Linked DNA regions of Homo sapiens: region 1 is linked to region 2. The links are contacts of gene promoters, found by promoter capture Hi-C in human tissues and cell types (Jung and others, 2019). All regions are on one chromosome and are shown on one strand. The core of a region is centred on a gene start or on the middle of the fragment in contact, and the rest is flanking DNA. Distances in the headings are between cores, read along the strand shown. Region 1 overlaps PLEK2 (pleckstrin 2). Region 2 holds the start of VTI1B (vesicle transport through interaction with t-SNAREs 1B).

The links. The method cuts DNA at HindIII sites, captures the fragments that hold promoters and counts their contacts. A contact is called where the count stands out against the background at its distance.
Region 1: a contact is called between a fragment that was not itself captured here and the fragment with the promoter of VTI1B in region 2, in 1 of the 25 tissues and cell types used here (mesendoderm cells).

Annotation. Positions count from the first base shown.
Region 1 is chr14:67,388,441-67,392,036 of GRCh38, reverse strand. PLEK2 (pleckstrin 2) reads left to right here. Exons shown (of 9, transcript NM_016445.3): 7 at 1,291-1,374. It also overlaps a transcript of GPHN not described here. Among named protein-coding and RNA genes, the nearest start is that of PLEK2, 22 kb to the left of the region's middle. RefSeq lists a silencer at 2,451-2,745. The HindIII fragment of the contact is 3,925 bases long and covers 1-3,596 here.
Region 2 is chr14:67,673,257-67,676,712 of GRCh38, reverse strand. It overlaps VTI1B (vesicle transport through interaction with t-SNAREs 1B), which reads left to right and starts at 2,081. Exons shown (of 6, transcript NM_006370.3): 1 at 2,081-2,338. The coding sequence starts at 2,224. It also overlaps a transcript of GPHN not described here. RefSeq lists silencers at 1,757-2,196, 2,297-2,406. The HindIII fragment of the contact is 11,558 bases long and covers 1-3,456 here.

The DNA of each region.
Region 1 (3,596 bases), core at 602-3,101, 280 kb after region 2:
TTCACATATTTGTCTTGGAAGCTTTTGCTGACTGGCTTGAGGTTTTGCATTTGCTGGCCTTCTGTTCCTTGGGGCGTCCTGGGGTCTCTGCCTTCCCTTGTGAGATTCTGCACGCCTCCTTGATACACTTTCTGAGCTAAAAACAATTTTCTCCACCATGTCGGTAGGTTGAAGATCAGATTCTCCACTGTAAGGCTCCCTATTCAAAGCCTGGCCATGGCCACTACTCCTAAACCGTGTTTGGGAGAGCAGCTATGTTGAACCAGAGGCAAGCCGTGTCCTGCGGCATTCCTACCTGTGCCTAACAAAAAGGGTATTCTGTGAACAAAATCACCTGTCCTTGGCCCAGGAAGTGTAGCAGACATTTTGCACAGCCTTCGTGTTTGTGCACATATTGTATACCATGTGAATGTGTGTGTCTGCACAGAGGGCACCTACACGGCTCGGCACCACTCCCATCGTTACTCGGAGCATGTGCTGTTGCTGTCACCTGCTTCCTGCATATCAGGATCCTCATCTGCTCTTAGATTCTTATCATCCCCACTGCTGCCTGTCTACACCAAGGCCCTGCTTCTGCTGGGCCTGATAGGAGTCCTTCCCGAGGGGAGGAAGAGAGGCCCCTAGGGGAGCTTGAGGAGGGTGTGGGAGGGACTCTGAGGGTGTTCCTGACTAGGAGGGCTAAGGTTTGTGATCTAACCTTAGCCCTCCTGGTCAGTGAGGCCAAAGAAAGTCACACACACACACACACACACACACACACACACATATCAGCTGCTTACACATTTAGATTTTATCATATAATTGATCGTTTCTTGCTTTTTTCCTAATGCACAATGTGAAAGTGGTTTTACTGCACATGTGGGCACACGTGTAGACTGACAAATATACATGTAGCTGTAGGTTTGTTTTTGGACTGACTTGGCCCTTAGCTGGTGCCCTTGGGTTCAAGTTTGCCTGTGTGCTCCCAGCCCAGCTGACACCTGCTGCCTCCCTGTCCTCCTTTATGCCCTGAGTATTGTGTGTCCCCTTTCCTTCTGCATGGACTCTCTTTGGCTCTGCTGACTTGACTTAAGGTGATGGCATTTTTGCTACAGTGTCACTGAGTGGGGGTGTTGGCAGGGAGGTCTGTGACATGTCATTGCTATCCTCAGGTTTCCTGTGGACTGGTTTTAGAATGTAGTCCCATTGGAGCGGGCTGGCTTGTTGGGGGTTTGGCATTACATGCATAGATACAGGAGAGAGGGACATGCAGCTGTCACCAATGAGCTTTGAACCATTTCTTTGCCTCAGGGACACAAGAGGAAAAACTGGAAGGTGCGTCGCTTTGTTCTAAGGAAGGATCCAGCTTTCCTGCATTACTATGACCCTTCCAAAGTGAGTGCGCATGCTGGCTCCATGTTGGTCCCATGTTGTGATGCCCCCAGACACTCCTCTCCTGGCATGGCGGGCAGCTGGCTGGATATCCTGCCTTCCCCTGGCACCCGCCGTAAAGTCTGCTGCACCATGCCTTTCCTTCCACAGTCCAAGCTGCTCTGCCCTGTCATCACATAGGTGCCTGCTTCTTGAGCCGTTTCTTCCATGCCTAATCCCCCACTTTCCCATGGGAGGGCATCTTTATCATTTTCAGAGGAAAAGCATCTTTTGGTCTTCCCCAAAGCCTGCTTTGTGAGTAGGGAGGATGAGGTAGGCTGACAGAGACTCCTACTGGCACTTCCCAGCCTCTCCACACTTTCCATTCAAAGATCCCATTAATTCTGCCTCCCTCCACTTTTCCCCACCTATGTTTTGAAAAGTTTCTGTCACCATATAATATTTAAGCCATAATTTACTAATTTGCTTTTTAAAAAACTTTGATGGCAAATTAAAAAAAAATCATTTTTATGTTTCTGATACTAGGTATTACCACATGCTAAGTGGATCTAATTCCAGTCAAAAGCAAAGAAAAAGGGCCCTTTAGTTAGCTGTTCAGCCTTGTCTTGGGCAATGTATGACTTTCATTAGTTTTTGTTGAAACAGTGAAGAGTGGGCAGTTCCTTCCTCACTGAGCTTCAGTCAGGAACCCCTGCCTGGACCCAGCTAGGCCAGGGCCAGGGAGGGATGTGGCAGGAGGAGCCTCCAAAAAGCTCCAGTTGACCTCTCTGTGGGGCATGGTGGCCTGGCTACAGGATGGAGTTCAAACTCCTTCCTTTCTGGCTACCTCAAATCCTGTTTGAAGCAAGGAAAAAATAAACAAATGAAAAAACACTTAAAAAAAAAAAAAAGAAAAAAAACACTTTAGTTTTGTATTTAACTCTCACCATGGTCTAGCCTAACCTACTTTCTTTGTGCCCCTGATGAGTCTGCTGTCTCAGCTTTTAAAATAGGAAACTGAGAAAATATATACACACACATACGTGCCTATACACACCTATCTATAAATACATATACATGTAAATATACATATATACATATATATGTACACATGCACAAATGCTCATATACATACATAGATGGAAACAGTGCAGAAGAGATTACTCAAAGCAAGTGTGCAAAGGAAATAAAAGAATTGCCAAATCTCTGGGCTGCAGGTACAAGATAAGGAACCATCTCAAAAGCATTCTGCAATTAATTTGTTCCGCACTTTACTCCCACTCTTCCTCCTGTTTAGGCTGAATGCCCCTCTCCTGTCCTGGGGACCTACTCTCCTATCCAGGACAGGACTCTCCTGTCCTCCCTGAGACTGCCCTTGAACCCTCCAGGCTGGGGCGGATCCCTTCCTTCTCTGAACTTTCCTCCCGTTGGCATTTAGTAGTACAAATATTTCCAGTATTTTATTTAACCATTTTATTTTTTGCCCTACCTCTTGCTGGGCCCAACATGCAGTATGAAGTTGATTATTGATTAATTGAAGGGCTCCTAGGGCCTGAGGCACGAGGTGTGTAAAGTTGCCCTGAATCGTCCAGGGATACCACCAATCGCAGTTTTGTATCACACGAAGTTTCTTGCTAGGCACATACTAGATTTGTGTAACGATGTCCTATGTGCAGGAATCTATCAACTTTGCAGAAATGATTACTATAGCTGGGTGCAGTGGCTCATGTCTGTAATCCCAGCACTTTGGGAGGCTGAGGAGGGCAGATCACTTGAGGTCAGGAGTTTGAGACCAGCCTGGCCAAGGTGATGAACCCCTGCCTCTACTAAAAATACAAAATTAGCCAGGTGTGGTGGCGTGTGCTTGTAATCCCAGTTCCTCGGGAGACTGAGGCAGGAGAATCGCTTGAACCTGGGAGGCAGAGGTTGCAGTGAGCCGAGATCGTGCCTCTGCACTCCAGCCTGAAAGACAGAGTGAGACTCCGTCTCAAAAAAAAAGAAATGATTACTATAAATATATATTTCTGATTGCTTTGTAAGATGCACACAAGGGTTAAGGAAGCCAGTGAATGTTTTTCCGGGTAGCATATTGGATCAGAGGCTCTGTTTGAGACATCTCCAGGAATGAAAAGCAGATTTGCAAGTCTGTGAGACTTGGTAACTGCAACATTGATGGGCACTACTGCTGCTGGCTGTGAAATGAAGAGGCCCAAGCTTCCTTACTGATGCATGCAGCTTTGGCCATG
Region 2 (3,456 bases), core at 832-3,331:
TCAATCCACATGCTATTAATTTAGGTTGTGTGATAATCTAATTGTTCATTCACCATTTCCTACTTAACCTTTTTTGACACTCTTCACAGACACTTTTTCCACATTTCTTGATCATCCCGGGCCATTTTTTTTTCCTTTCTTTTTAATTAGAGACAGCGTCTTGCTTTGTTGCCCAGGCTGGCCTCAAACTCTGGGCTCAAGCGATCCTCCCACCTTGGCCTCCCAAAGTGCTGGGGTACAGGTGTGAGCCGCAGCACCCGGCCCCAGGCTATTGATCCTTTTTTTGCACCTGCCCCTTATTTCTGTACTGTGACAAGTCCCAGCATTGTGCTGTGGGACTTACACAGTATACTGACTATCCTCAGACTTGGTCATGTCTATGCTCAGTGCATATTAAGAGCTTAACCAAAGTGTGTTGAATCAACAGCCAATGAACTTGATCTAATAAAAATGAGGGCCCAGGAGATACAAATTAGCAAAGCATTTTCTCCTGAGCAGTCATACATCTTTTAATATTTGTAGGCAGTTTAAAATTGAACTCCCAAGCAAACATTTGAGAACAGACACCTTGAGCAAACCGTGAAATCGGTGAAAATAATAATTTATTTTAATTTTTTGAGATAGGGTCTTCTCTGTCACCCAGGCTGGAGTGTGGTGGCACGATCTCAGCTCACTGCAACCACTGCCTCCCGGGTTCAGGCGATTCTCCTGCCTCAGCCTCCCGAGTAGCTGGGGTTACAGGCGCCCACCACCACGCTTGGCTAATTTTTGTGTTTTTAGCAGAGACGGGGGTTTCACCATGTTGGCCAGGCTGGTCTTGAACTCTTGACCTGAAGTGATCCGCCCGCCTCGGCCTCCCAAAGTGCTGGGATGACGCGTGAGCCACCATGCCCGACGTGAAGACAGGAATTTATACCCATGGAGTGCAAGAAGGGACCTTGTAATTTTTAACACGTGACACTTAGTGGCAGATGAGACCTAATGAAGCCAGGCCCACCTTCCACACCAGATTATAAATTCCCCTGGAGCAGAGATTAAATGTTTTATTCACCAACATGCCCAGATCCCTCGCAATGCCTACGCTTGACAAACACCTGTTGTCAACAAGTGCACGAGGCAGCCTAGGAGGAGAATTAGTCTCCACGAGGAGAATTACTCGGGCCTAGCAGCTAGAGTATTTCGAGGTCATCCTAACTGGGTTCCACTTTTGAATTTTTGGTTTTTGGGTTTTTTGTTTTTTTGGAGACAAGATCTCGCTCCACTTGGGAGCAAGGTCTCCCAAAGCTGGAGTGCAGTGGTGGGACCTCAGCCTCCGGGGGTAGCTGGGGCCAAAAGTGCGCGCCACCATGCCCGGTTCTTATTTTGGGTTTCTGGTAGAGCTCTCGCTATTGTGCCCAGGCTGGTCTCGAACTACTGGGTTCAAGCAATCCTCCCACCTCGGCCTCCCAAAGTACTGGGATTACAGGCGCGAGCCACTCGCCCGGCCGGGTTCCACTTCTGAAAGCTTGGGGAGCCGCTGGGCCTTCCAAGAAAAGTGCTCCACCTCCCGACGGCAGGCAGAGCCCCTGGCCCGGCTATCTTTCCAGGGCCGAAAGCTAACAGTCAAGACGCGAAACGAGGAATTCGGGTCAGGGTGGCAAAGCAAAGCGCGATGACAGTGAGGACGACGTCTAGACGCAAACATACATCAAATCGGGCCGAAGCCCGCTGTCGCCGCGCGGGCTGAACCTGGCACCCGGAGCAACGCGCGACCCCGGGACGAGACGCTCTCGTCCGAGCCAAACTACATCCCCCGGCGTGCACTGCAGCGCCCGCCCCTCGCCGGCCGGCGGGGCCCGGGAGGAAGGCGGCCGCGCTGCCAGTCCCGCAGGTCCCCTAGGCCCCTTTCGCTGCGGCCTTTCCCCAACCCGGACCCGGCACTTCTCGGGTTCCGCGACTGCCGATCGCCCCGGCGCGGCACCGCTCCCTCAGGAGTCGCCTAGGCCGCGCAGTCTCCCGACTTCTCGTCAGGCTTTCGCGCCGGCGCTCCAGCAATCACTGGCTGGAGAAGGTGGGCGTTCCGGCTCGAGAGGACCCTGCCGCGGCTCCGGAAGAGCCTCGTCCTGGGCGGCGGTGGTGCGGCGGTCGCCGTTATGGCCACTGGGCTGGGCGGCTGACCGCCGGGCTAGGAAAGGGCCCAGGGCCCCGAATCTCGGTGGCCGCTGCTCCAGCGCGGCCTGCGCCATGGCCTCCTCCGCCGCCTCCTCGGAGCATTTCGAGAAGCTGCACGAGATCTTCCGCGGCCTCCATGAAGACCTACAAGGGGTGCCCGAGCGGCTGCTGGGGACGGCGGGGACCGGTGAGGCGGGGGTGGGCCACGCCGTGGGGAGCGCAGCCCTGCGCGCTTTGGAAGGAAGATTCTCCCACCTTCCTCCCAGACCCGGGCCCGCGTCTCCTCCCTCCGCGTCCTCAGACACGCCCCCTAGGGCTGGCTTGTCCCAGCCCCAGGTCTCCCTGCTGCCACTGAGAGTAAATTGGACCTCGGGATTCAGTTCCCTGGGATCCTTCTATGGCCTTCCACATTTTCTCATCTTTTTTCACTGTGGCAAATAGAGCAGAGGGGCTTTTGCATCTGCGGTCCTGTAATGTAGAGTGGGTTTCTTTCATAGCTGTTTTTGTTTGTTTTATGCATTTAAAAGCACTAGTCTCAAGACAGGTCTAGTTTTCACCAGACTGACAGAGGATCCGTAGCACAGAAAAAGGGTTAAAAACCCAAAGGAGTCATAATTTGGGGGTGTTGGTAAATACCAGTTATTGGAGGGTAGAGAGCTGGCCTTTAAAACCTGATTGTGGCATTTAGATGTGGTCTTGTTTTGAACGTTTTTACAGCTGAGACTGTTTACTACCCCTTAATTTCATGATTCAGGTTGCTACAAGTTCTGTCTGGAGGAGCTAGAGTTTTCCGGCCCTAAATCCATAGGAAAAGCTGCTATAGTTCTTGGCCTCCGGATATATAGAATTTGATGGCAAGGACAAAACTTTGTTTTATTGCTTTTATTTAAGAGTCAGAGCTTGGGTGTTTGCTCAACGAATTACTCAAGGTCATAGGAATTGAATGACTGGTGAGAATGAAATTCATGTATTTAATATATATTTATTGTGAGGCTGCTGTGTGCTAGGTGCTGGTGAATTGTGAGGCACCGTTCTAGGTGCTGGTGAATATTGCAAATTACAGTGAAAAAGATACGAACATCCCCATTCTAGTGGGTAGGTGATAAACAATATATAACTATTAAGAGGCAGTGTTAAAGAATACAGGAAAGTAAATCAGAGTAAAAGAATAGGGGATGGGACTTCAGTTTTATTTTATTATTTATCATTTTTTTTTTTGAGACAGGGTCTCACTCTGTCACCCAGGCTGGAGTGCAGTGGCACGATCTCGGCTCACTGCAACCTCCACTTCCCAGATTGAAGCAA